Regions from separate parts of the Homo sapiens genome. Here region 2 is linked to region 1. Evidence: promoter capture Hi-C in 16 types of primary human blood cells and fetal thymus (Javierre and others, 2016). All regions are on one chromosome and are shown on one strand. Each heading gives the region's core, a stretch centred on a gene start or on the middle of the fragment in contact. The rest is flanking DNA. Distances are from core to core; before and after follow the strand shown.

Evidence for each region. Contacts are between HindIII fragments. The CHiCAGO score rates a contact against its expected background, and 5 or more counts as called.
Region 2: the fragment with the promoter of FPR3 here is called in contact with the fragment with the promoter of SIGLEC9 in region 1 in 7 of 17 cell types (neutrophils, M2 macrophages, total B cells and 4 more); the score reaches 17.0 in neutrophils.

What each region holds. Positions count from the first base shown.
Region 1 is chr19:51,121,843-51,128,135 of GRCh38, reverse strand. SIGLEC9 (sialic acid binding Ig like lectin 9) reads right to left here and starts at 3,230. Exons shown (of 7, transcript NM_014441.3): 1 at 2,741-3,230; 2 at 2,261-2,539; 3 at 2,008-2,055; 4 at 840-1,106; 5 at 97-187. The coding sequence starts at 3,161. The HindIII fragment of the contact is 17,590 bases long and covers 1-6,293 here.
Region 2 is chr19:51,791,526-51,797,818 of GRCh38, reverse strand. FPR3 (formyl peptide receptor 3) reads right to left here and starts at 2,662. Exons shown (of 2, transcript NM_002030.5): 1 at 2,488-2,662. The HindIII fragment of the contact is 12,110 bases long and covers 1-6,293 here.

The DNA of each region.
Region 1 (6,293 bases), core at 1,981-4,480:
CATCCAGGTCCCTCCAGCTCTGGCTTCAGGGATCCAGCTTCCAGCCTGTCCTCCCCCAGGGCTCTCCCTCCCTCCCTCTCTAGGGTCCATGCTTACACAACGAAGATGACGCAGAAGGACAGGAAGACCAGGGCTGTGGCTCCAGCTCCCCCGACCACCCCCTGAGTCACTCCTGATGTGGCTTTGCCTGTTGACAGATGGGAGTTATTTTTGTGATATATCATAGAGAATTGGGTCTCTTCTCCTCCCACTTCCTGTAGGGTCCTAGACTTCTATTTCCACTTCCCCTTTCCAGACACAAAGAACAGGAATGAGAGAGAGCAGGACATGGAGAGACTCTTCCTGAGGCCAGTGAGGCGTGCAAGTGCCAGCCATTCCTTTTGGGGTTTTTTTTCACAATTTTAATATTTTATCCATTAATGAATTTGTTTTGCATTCAATTTTTACTTTTTTTAAAAGATTATTGCATTGCAATATGATTTCATTTGATTGCTGACTTGCTGGGCTTTTTCTTTTTTTTAATTTGATGCTCAAAGCAAGTATCTCAGTTGTGTGACTCCAGTTCAGCCCTGCAAAGAAAGGCGCTTGTCTCCCTAAACACACCTGTCCGGCCCCATCCTGTCCCCTCTGAGATCCACTCCTGCCCTCTCCCCACCCCACAACCCTTCCCTGGCAGGAAGAGGACAGTGGTGCTGTGGGTCCCAGGGAAGTTCCAGACCTCACAGCTGAGCACAGACCAGAGCGGAGCTCCTCTCTGAAGGTCCACGCTCAGCAGTTACTAAGGGTGGAGGAGGTGTGTTCTCCTCTCCAGCCCCTCCCCAGCATACTGGTGCACTCACTCTGCAGGGAGACGTTCAGGTAGACCTGCTGAGAGCCGAGAGGGTTCTGAGCTCTGCAGGTGAATTCAGCTGCATCCCTCAGGTGCACCCAAGGCAGCTCCAGCACCCCCGGGTTTGAGGGCTGTGAGGGGCACAGGGTCAGGCCTCTCCAGCTCAGGCTCAGCCTGGCAGGGGGATTGCTGTCAACTGCATCAACTGCACAGACCAGGCGCAGAGACTGGCCCTCTGGGAGTGACAGAGATGAGCCATTTCCCAAGACTGTGGATACTGTAGAAAAAGAGACAGAGGGTCAGAGAGATACATAGATCTGGAGAAAAAGGAAGGATACAGAAAGAGACTGATGACAGCAACTGACACACAGACATAGACTGAAGTTCTGGAAACACACACTTTCACCACTCACTGCTGGGAATGTAAACTTCTCCCCGCTTCATCGAGAACAGTTTGGGCTTATCTTTCAAAATAAGAAAGAACATATAATGTAGCTACATTTTGCTTTTAGGAACTTAACCCACAGGCTTAGATATTCCTGTGGAAGTAGATACAAGATTGTTCTATCCTGCCGTAGGATGAAATTAGTGCCGTGATCTTCCATTAGGAGATGCCACAAAATCAGAGTCCATCCATGCAGTGGACTCACACACAGCCCTAGAGGAGGGTGCGGACAGTCTCACTACGGACGTCAAACCACCTCTGAGATCCTCCAGGTGTACAAACCGAGACTCAGGGCAGCCTGGATGGACAGTGGTTGGTTCTGGGGAGGGGGGCAGGCATCGGAGGAGAGCCTTTGCTCTGCAATTTGAATTTTTGCCCATGGACATTTATCACCTGTCCAGAAGTACTTAGATCAGAACTATCAGAAATAAACAGATAAGGGTGGAGATGTATTCAGGAGATACATGAGAAGGAGCCTCAAAGCCTGGTCCTGCTGTGTGAATGCCACCCTCTTCTTGTTTGAGGCTGAGGGGGGGGTGTGTGGGGGAGTCCAAGGGAGGTGATGGGAGGATGGGAACAAGTGGCCTTGGGGCCTAAGGATACAGAGGGGCCCTGAGTTCACCCACAAGGACATCCCTGTTTGCCAAAGTGAGTCCAGGTTGAGGAATAAGCCAGCCCCATCCTGACCTGAAGGCCCTGCTCCTCCAGCCCCAGGGAGGGAGCTCCATCCTACCTGTGCCGTCTCCTTGGAAGACAGTCATGGTCAAGTTCTGAGGCGGGTCTGGGACAGAAAGACATGGAGACCCGCATCACTGTGAGGGCTGGGGACACTGGCCCTGTCTGTCCCCAGGAGCCGCATAAACAGGGAAGGCAGAGCCAGTGTCCTCCTGACCCCACCACCAGCCCAGATTCCGGGACCCAGCACCCAGTGTCCAGGCTTGACGCTCACCCCATCAGGGACCCAGGCGTCCCGGCCCAGCACTCACAGGACACGTTGAGATGGACGGTCTTGTTCGTGGTCACGCTGGCCCCAGGGAAGGTCACCTGACAGGTGAGGCTGGTGCCATGGTCCTGGGGCTGTGGGATGAGGGTGAGCACCGAGGAGCGGGTGGTGGAGGGGTCCAGGGGGGACACGGAGGTCCCTATCCAGGAGATCATAGGGGGTGTCCCCTGCTCACAGGCCCAGGGCACAGAGCAGGTCAGATTCTGGGGGCAGCCGGACTCCAGGGTGCCTGGGATGAGGATGTTGGGCCTGTGGGTCAAGGCTGGTGAAGAGAGGGGGACTCAGGATCAGGTCAGAGGATCCATGGTGCAGCCCTGGGGGGAGCTCAGGCTCTGGTCCAGCTCCTGCCCTGAGCCAACTCGCTTCACCCTAAGCCCTCTCCTGGGGCAGGGGCTCCATCCCAGCCTTTCCCTGCCGCCCCCATGACCTTTCCCTGTGGCCTTTCCTGGAGCCTGTGCCTTACCTGTCACATTCACAGAGAGCCGGTGATGTTTATAATTCCATTTTATACTTCCTTTCTCCATACGAAAGAAGTATCTCCCCGCATCACTTCTTCTGGCATCTCTGATGCTCAGGGTGCAATTCTTGGTATGTGGGTCCCCAAGGAGGTGGAATCGGTCCCGAGTCTCCTCCCACACTGCCCGAGCTGGGTTGTTTGTGGCCACTGGAGCATCCTGGTCTGTATTGGCCCCTTCCCGGAACCAGTAGCCATGAACTACTGGGCCAGGGTAAATCCAGCCATGCGAGGGGTAGGAGAAGGAGCAGGGCACATGGACACACAGGCCTTCCTGCACCGTCACGGAACTCTGCATCGTCAGCAGTTTACTTGTCTGTCCTTCCGCCCTCTCCCTCCCCCAGAGCAGGGGCAGCAGCAGCAGCAGCATGTCTGGGGTTAGAGGTGCCAGGGCCGCGAGGGAACGTCTGTTCCTCAGGGTTCTTCTCTCAGGAACTGCGGGCTCAAGACTTAGAGGAGGCCCTACAGGAAGACAGGGGCGAGGTCGGAACAGTGACCTCCTCAGAGGAGGAACTTTACACCCAGACACTGTCAGGCCCGGGTCAGCCCTGGGAGATCCACCGTCCACCACCCCATGTTCACTCCTGGGTCCCTGAGGCCAGAGCGGGAGACAGACTCACCCAGATTCCCACCCCATGCAGGGCCCACCCCACCTCCTGCCTCCCTCTCAATGCCCTTCCCCTTAGGTGACATTTTCTGCAGGGTGAAAATGAGTCCCATCTGGCCAGACCCCTGAGTCAGAGGCTGTGGATATCTGCGTAGCTCAGAGGTGGGACTTGGGGCCATGAGAGATGGGGGTGCAGGTGGGGTGAGCAGGCAGCCTCTCATCCCCCCCAAGCAAGCACGAGGTGGGCACCCCCTTTCTGCACAACGAGGTCAACACAGCAGAGCTGGACACTGTCCCCAAGGGGTCACTGTGCGGAGGGGAGACATGGAGGCTCCTGACGTCTGAGCTGTCCACGGCAGGAGCTTCAGTTGGGGGGCACAGGCAGGATGGGGTCACTCTCCCGTAGGTCAGGGGTTCAATCTCAGGAGGACTGAGCAGAGGGACATGGGGCTGTGGAGGTGAGGATTCTATGTGTTGATACACGCCAAGGACACAGAGGGGAGCCTGGCTCGCAGGAGGTCTGGGAAACTGAGGCTGTGACTGTTGTACTGTGGGGCTTGGAAGGGAGGAAATTCGGAAGAAAAGGGGCAGATTTCAAAAGGGAAGATATTTCTCCTTTCCTCACTGCACCACGAAGGGTTTCTTCACCACCGATGTCTCGCTCAGCCACACTTCCCTGGTTACTCCAGAACATGAGGGATCAGCTGGCCCTGGGGCTTTGCTTCTGCAAGCTCTGCTCCCAGGGGTCCCGGTGAACAGGAGATGTGGAGTGAGGACACCAGCCCCGGGGCATGCACCCTCCGCGATGGGCAGGATTTCATGGGAGAAGAAACATGCACCTGAATTCAGCAGAAGATTTTTTGTAACTGTGTGGCTGGGCTGGGAGGAACTGGGAGTATCCTGTGTGGTGGAGCCTCCTTAGACCGATGTCAGTTTTCTAGAAATATTTTTGGGAGAAATATAAGCCATATAGATAAAAATGTCTTCCCCCCAAGAAAAAATCTCAGCGGTTTACACATATGAACATGCTTAGAGAAACAGAACACTGGGGATGCCGCAACACCTCCTCTTTGTTACCCCACTTCCTGTCAGCCACACCCCACTTCCTCCTGAAGCAGCCCCAGCCTCACTTTAACGCTAATGGTCTCCATGCTTTTCTAGGTAGTTTTATCATCTGTGCACGTTGCCGTGAATACCTCAGGCCCCCATGTTTGCCCAGTCGCTCCCTGGGAAGTTGCAGCATCTCAACTGCAATGGTCAGAAGGGCTGAGCCATGGCTGACAGTGTTGTCCTGCATCTGTTCTGCAGGGCTGGGTGTCCACATCTGAGTTCTGTCTTGAGCAGGAGGGGCTCAGTCAGGCCTCTCAGCACTGCTCCCCTGGGGCCCTCCACACCTGCAGAGCCAACACGGGCCTCAGATTAGCATCGGCCACTTCAATTCTAACTCAGGCGGGACAGGACAGCTCAGCCCCACCTGGAACTCGGGGAACAATCCTTCGGCTTCCCTAGAAAAGAGCAGGCCTGCTCACCTGGAGTAGTAGCTCCAGGTGAGGCCATGGGGGTTGGGGGGAAGCCAGTGCCCAGGATGGCCCCCTGATCAGGTGAGAACCAGGGGCCAGAAGCCCTCCTGCTTTTCACTCACACATCTGTAGCCAGAGGGGCTTCCTGGGAAAGGGTAGAAGCGTGTGAGATTCTGTTCCCAGGCCTCCACCCCTCTGACAGCCCAAACACCCGACTAGGCTGCCTGCCTCAGCAGCTGTCCTGCAACTCACTCTGCACAGAGGCTCAGGGAAATGTGCTGAAATCGCAGTGGGTGGTGAGCCCAACAGGTCAATGCTCCTCCGTCCCAGCCCCTATCTGAGGCAGCTCCAGGCCCCCGGGTGCTGAGAGCTGGGAGGAATTCAGTGTTCTTCCCTCTCAGGACCAGCTCAGCCGGGCGGGGTTGGGAGGTGGGGTGCTGTCAGCCACACAGACCACAGGGACTCTCCCTCCAGGACAGGCAGTGGTGTACCATTGTTCAGGGTCTTTGGGGCTGGACGAAAAAAACAGAGAAAGCAGGAAGAGTGGTGCTGAGAGGTCGGTTTCTCCCTTACCTCCCATTCGGAATGAGACAGAAGACACATGACTGTTTGACTCATGCTTTTTTTTTTTTTTTTTGAGATGGAGTCTTGCTCTGTCACCCAGGCTAGAGTACAGTGCCGTGATCTCAGCTCACTGCAAGCTCCGCCTCCCACGTTCAAGCGATTCTCCTGCCTCAGCCTCCTGAGTAGCTGGGATTACAGGCATGTGCCGCCACGCCAGGTTAATTTTTGTATTTTTAGTAGAGACGGGATTTCACCATGTTGGTCAGGCTGGTCTTGAACTCCTGACCTCGTGATCTGCCCACCTCAGCCTCCCAAAGTGCTGGCATTACAAGCGTGAGCCACCAAGCCTGGCCCGGCTCATGCTCTTATGTACACAAATCCCGGAGTCCACGCTAGCTGACAGACCCTGGAGGGAAGGAGGCTGAACTGAGATTGGAAGGGGGAGTGGGTCATATTGACGCAAGACAGACAGGCATCACAAGTGAAGGACGAGGGATGTGCAAAGGCTCTGAAACAGTCTGGCAGATGAAGAGACCTGCACATATATCTGGGGTCTTCCAAGGGGACATGGAGGTGTTGGGGCATGACCAGCTGAGGAGCTTAGACTGAGGGTGCCGAGGAGTCACAGGGGACTCTGGGCCAGGAAGGGGTGGGGCTGGTACTGGGTACAGGAAGGTCTTTCTGGGCTTGTGCTATCAGGGGCACAGCATGAAGGGAAGATGGGAGGCTGGGGAGGGGCATGGAACAATGATCAAGACAGCAAAGAGGCTGGGTGCGGCGGCTCAGATCTGTAACCCCAGCACTTTGGGAG
Region 2 (6,293 bases), core at 1,413-3,912, 670 kb before region 1:
AGCCCTCACCAGGCTGTGTGTTGTGTTGTGGGGTACAATCCCGAACCCTGCACTATGAAGCTCAGGGTCAGGACAAGAACGATGCTTATAGCAATAGTAGCTTCTACTTATGAACATTATCCACACACCAAGAGCTTCTCCCTTAACCCTCACAACTCCTCTCATAGGCTCTGTGGATGGGATGTGTTAATATGTGTAAGCACTCAACACACCCTGAGACACGGTGAATATTGATTAATGTTAGTTTTAATTTGTATAACCATTGTACAGACGAGAAAGTTAAGACTTAGATTGAGGTGGGATGTGGTGAGGGATAAAAGATCATTTTTTATACCAAAAAAATTGAAAATTGTATTTCTACTAGATCATTCTATCACATAATCACGCCCCCTCTCTTTCAAGAGAAACCTCCTTTGAAGCATATTTCTTTCCAGCTTCAACCCTATCTAGCCAAATGACCTCTCTGTAAGGTCTGTCTGTAAGACAGAATTTCCAGCCAAACATCCAAAGAGAATGTCTCTAATTCTTCCTTTTCCTTCTTCGCCTCAGCTGTTCTCCTTAATCCACTCCACATTGACTTCTGTCCTTAGCACTCCACCTAATGCATTTTCCCAAGGATGCTTATGACCCCCAGGCTGCCAAATCCAGTGAGTCCTTCTCAGTTTTTAAGACCTGATATCCCAATGACACAGGACCCATTGGATCACTTTCTCCCTTTTCAAACACATTTTTCCTATGCCATGAGATATATCCAAGAGATATGTGCACACAATACACTCTTGGTCGTCTCTACAGCTCGATTCTCTTCCTCTTTTTAGTCCAATTTACGGTGTTTTCTATTCTAAATTTGACTCTAAATGTTGGGGTATCTCACATTCTATAAATGATATCATCCAGTCTCTGGGATTAAACCATTATGCTGTCTTTTCATCTAAATTATCAGCCGTGGCCTCTCCCTGGCACTCAAGTCTGATAAAACCTCTCCCCGTGGGAGTCCCATAGACTCCAAACCTCACATGGTTTTACCAAACTGTTGATGTTCTCTGCCTCCCAGACCTGCCACTCTTCCAATATTCTGTATCTATTTGGAGATTAAATATTCAGTTGTTAAAGCTCCAGATCTAGAACTCACCTTTCATTTCTCTTTTCCTCACCACCCAACGCCATCCACGTCTTACTCATTCTATCTACAGAACATGCTGAATGCACAGCCAGAGCCATTGCCATCTCCACGACCGGTGTCCATGGCCCTGTCAGGCTTGGATATTTGCACAAGCCTTGCAAATAGCTTTTTCCTGGTCCTGCTGCCCCCTCCCCTAAGATCCATTCTCCAGACAGAAACCAAATGAGCTTTAAAAAGGTCCAATAAGATGGTGATGTTATTCGCAATACCTTCCGATGGCTTCCAGACTTCTAAGTTACCCTTATCTTAGGTTCCCTTATCCTAGGTTCCCTTATCCACTGCCACATGTGCCCTGTGCATCCCTCAGACCTCATCTCTGCACTCTCATCAGACACACTGGGCTCCACCCACTGGGCTCTAATTCCTTGAACTTGCAGCTCTTTGTCATCTCAGGGCTTCTGCTTTCTCTATTCCTTCTGCCTACCGTGCTCTTCGTCTTGAGCTTCCTGCACCTGGCTCATCCTGAATATTCATATTTCAGGTCAAATATTATTTCAGAGAGATCCCACCTCACCCACTCTGCAAAGCAGAATGCTCAGGTACAGCCTATCTCACCAGATACTTTTCTCCTTTATTTGTTTGTTCATTTATCTTCTCTCTTAAATACCCTCCACACTAGTACGTAAGCTCCACAGGACTATCAAGATCCTTCAATGCTACATCTCTACAATGCTACATGTCCAGTAGAAATATAATGTGTTAACTTTAGCTACATATGGGACTCAAAATTTTTTTGTAGCCACTGTTTTTAAAAAAGTAAAACACCTTTGGGGAAATTATTTTAGTAATAAATTTTATTTAATTACATATATGATAAAGAATTGGCCAGTCACATTGGCTCACGCCTGTAATCCCAGCACTTTGGGAGGCCGAGGTGGGCAGATCACGAGGTCAGGAGTTGAAGACCAGCCTGGCCAACATATTGAAACCCCGTCTCTACTAAAAATACAAAAAATTAGCCAGGCGTGGTGGCAGGTGCCTGTAATCCCAGCTACTCAGGAGGCTGAGGCAGGAGAATCGCTTGAACCTGGGAGGCAGAGGTTGCAGTGGGCTGAGATTGTGCCACTGCACTCCAGCCTGGGTGACAGCGCAAGACTCCATCAAAAAAAAAAAAAAAAAAAAAAAAAAAAAGAATGTTACTGGAACATGTAACCAAATTAAACACTGTTAATGAAATAGTTAACATTGTTTTCATACTAACGAAGTGGATTCTTCACTGGACTACGCTACTCCAGAGTTAGAAGGGCTCTGTCATATAGCAGGCATTTCAACAATAACTTTAAAATTTTCAGACCCCAACTTACCACCAGCTTAGATCCTTTTCCTGTGCCCAGTTCCTGGATTCCTGTGGAGCAACTCAGGCTCTAAGTACTTGTAAAAAGATGAAGTTATATGTTTGGTTTTAAGATCTTAATTGGCTTTGGTTATAAAGATGGAATCAGACAGCCTGTCATGCTATAAAACAAAATGAGTGTTTTGATAGTTAGAGCCAAGGAAGTTGGTTTTACAGGGATAGGAGGGCTAAAGAAAGCAGAAACAGAGAACAAAAACCTGATTGGTCATCTGGATGTTGCATTTTTTTTGTGCAGCAGGAATAGAGAGACAGCAATAAGGAACAACTGATTGATTGAAGTCAAGTTACCACAGATTGCTTTTTTTTTTTTTTTGTAAAGATGAAAGCAGACAGAACTTCATGTTCATGCCCACTGAAACTGGCCTGTTTTAGGAATTTGTCCATTTTCTCTCTCTCCTGATTTCTCAAAAGTTCAGATACATTAGTTTTGGTTTGGTGATGTGGAGTTTTAGTATGACTGACTCCATTTGGTTTGCTTTGTCGAACCTAGTACAATAGGTCAGTCCAAACCACTTACTTGCTGTTTTTATAGAACAGGCTTCAGCAGAGACTTAGTTGAAGGACACGGGGACAATGGAGCTGGAATCAATCCAGTGACACAAACTCAGGGTTTCTTACCATTCCCAGAAGACACCTTGGAGATGTTCTCAGACGATTTATCTTGGAAACTTATGTGTCTGAATGTTCCTTCACCTCTAGCCTTCTGTGGGAGACTGGAGTTCATCCTTCCAAATATCAAAGGCCAAGAAATCTGAGAGTCCAGGCCCTTTCTTTTCAGAGATTCAGGAAAATGAAAGAAACAATTACCAAGGTGAGAAGAATGAGAGGAAAAACAATAAAAAAACAAAGATGCACGGTGAAACAAAAACTCGATTCTCTACTTTCACAATCCTTCTGACCAAATATACTTTTTCTCTACACCAAGAAATTCTCCAATTCTCTGGGGACACCACCTGGGCCACCTGCAATTAAAAATTCGGTTATGATGCTGTCTACCTGGATTCAGCTCAGATCCGAAAAGCTAAAGGGCTCACTCCCACAAACTGTTCTCAGATCAGATCAGACATCTGTTGCAAGTCCCAGGTGGCTACTTGTACTTCTGACTGACAGGCTATAAATTGGGTGTTCCAATGACACCAATAAATTGCTAGAATGGCACACAGAACTCAGGAAAGCACTTTGTTTGCATCTGTTGCTTTATATAAGGAATATACCTCAGGAATAGTCCATTGGAAAGAGGCATATGGCAGGTATATGGCAGGGAAGGGGTTGGGTGGTGCATGGAGCTTCCATGCTCTCTTCAGGCAGCCACTCTCCCAGCACTCCTGAGTGTTCACCAATGTGGAAGCTCATCAAATCTCATTGTTCAAGAGTTTTTATGGAACTCAATCTCCAGTCCCTGCCTCCCCTTCCTGGAGATCAGTAGGTGGGGCTGACAGCTCCAACCCTCTAATCCCTTGGTCTTTCTGGTGACCAGTCCCATCCTAAGGCCATGATCTCCTTAGCATAAACTCAGCTATGATCAAAAGGGGCTGTTTATGAATAACAAATAATACTCCTATCACTCAGGGAATTCCAAGGGTTTTAAGAGCCCTGTGCCAGAAATCTGTGACAAAATCAAATATGCTTTGAGGTATTTCATACCTCAGAGTTACAAAGAGAAGCAGTAACTAGGAGCATGTAGAGAGGTAAGGAAGGTAAATGAGAGACACTGTACACTCCACACCATTGCCGAGATTAACCCCCTAACCTTCTGCCCCTAGGGAGATGCTCTATGGACTACTGATCTAAGGAGATGGGCTCTTTCTGAGTTTTTAAACACCATCAGAATGTTGTTCTCAAGCCCAAGGAATAGAACCATGAAAAACAGTGGAGAGCCACAAAACAAGAGTCAACTATTTTCTATTTTCTCTCTGATTCACTGGATGTTTTCAGTGATAAGGTAGAGTAAACCAATGAAGCACATAAGCCATGGAGAAATTTATTATTAAAAAAAGTTTTGGAAGGGGATAGATCTGGAGTTTGAACAAAAATTGAGTTTAATGTCACCCTTCCACTCCATCATCATATTGGTTTTCTTCTAGGGCTTTCTTGAAAGTGACCACAGAATGGCTGCCACTGTTCTGGACATTGCATCAACAGGCCCTCCCGAGCCAGAATCATGAGACAGGCAGAAAATGTGACTCATTCACATGCCTCTTCCATTTTATTACAGAGGGAAACCTTGTCCAGAGTCTCTTCAGGACCTCTCCTTGTCTTTCATTGCCAGAGCATGCCATCTCTAGACCAATCAATGGCCAAGAAATAACAAAAATACCGATACATAAAAATAAAGGTCAGGGACAGTGGCTCACGCCTGTAATGCCAGAATTTGGGGAGGCCAAGACAGGAAGATTGCTTGAGCTCAGGAGTTCAAGACCAGCCTGGGCAACATAGTGAGACCCCATCTCTAAAACCAAAAAAATATTAGCTGGGTGTGGTGGTGTGGACCTGTAGTTCCAGCTACTCAGGAGGTGAAGTGGGAGGACTGCTTTGTCAGGGAAGTTGAGGCTGCAGTGAGCCATGATGATGCCACTGCCCTCGAGCCTGGGCAATGAGCAATACCTTACCTCAAAAAAAAAAAAAAAAAAAAAAAAGACAAGTTGCTCATATTGGCTTAGGCCAATCATGATTGCTTTCCTAGGACAGTGGCACATTGCTACCTGCCACCTGATTAAAATGGAATTTACTTATCAGTATAATAAAGGGTGGTGGGTATTGCATGAGGCCTCTGAAGAGGTGCTCCCTTGCTGGCTCCTGCAGACATAGAGCTTAAACAGACATGTGCCTTACCCTGGAGATGCCGACTACCCAGGTAAAGAGGTGACAGCGTCACTCTACTGTGACTAAGCATAGTCTTATGCACCCTTTGTGCACAATGGTGTCCTCTGCCATTTCCCTAAGCAGTCACAGTAGAGTGGGGGTATATAGTGATAGACAGATGCCTGGTTCATTATGAGATTTCCCAAAAGGAACAACTAACTGAGACTGACAGGGTCCAGGGTCACTTCCAAGTGCAATGCAGATAACATCCGGGATGAATCTTAAAGACTCAGATAAAGAAGCAAAAAAAAATACATTCCAGGCAGAGGAGAGTGAAAGCACGCAGGAAAGGGTCAAAAAATAGCAGGTTACCTGCGGTTATTGGAGCATAGATGGTGAGGCAGACAGCAATAAACACTGAGTGTGTAGCAAGTGGCAGAAGCCATCTGTTGGAGGGTCCTGAATGCTACAAGAAGGACTTGGAATTTCTTCATAATAACATGAATAACCATTTAAGCAGGACAGTGACTTGTCAGGTGTGTGCTTCTGAAAAATATTGTTCTGTAGTCCTGCAAAGGGATGCCTTTGAGAATGTTTCTAATTGGAGACAGAGATATTAGAATGGAGAATGTTGCCAGAAATCAAGGTAAGGTTCTTGAAGAGCTACCCAGGGCAGGAATAGTGTGATCAAGAAGAGGCGTAGCTTAGAGACAGATTGTCCAGGCTGAGTAGACCAGCCTTGGAGACTGGATGGCTGTGGGGAATGGGGAAGAATGAGTGCTCTTTATAAATTCCACATTCCTAAAGTTACTATTGCTGCATCTGCTACAGTCTGAATGTTTGTTTCTCCCCTCCCCAGATTTGTATGGGAAATCCTAACCCCCTAGGTTATGGTATTAAAAGGCGGGACCATAGGGAGGAGATTAGAGCGTGATGGTTGCACCCTCATAAATA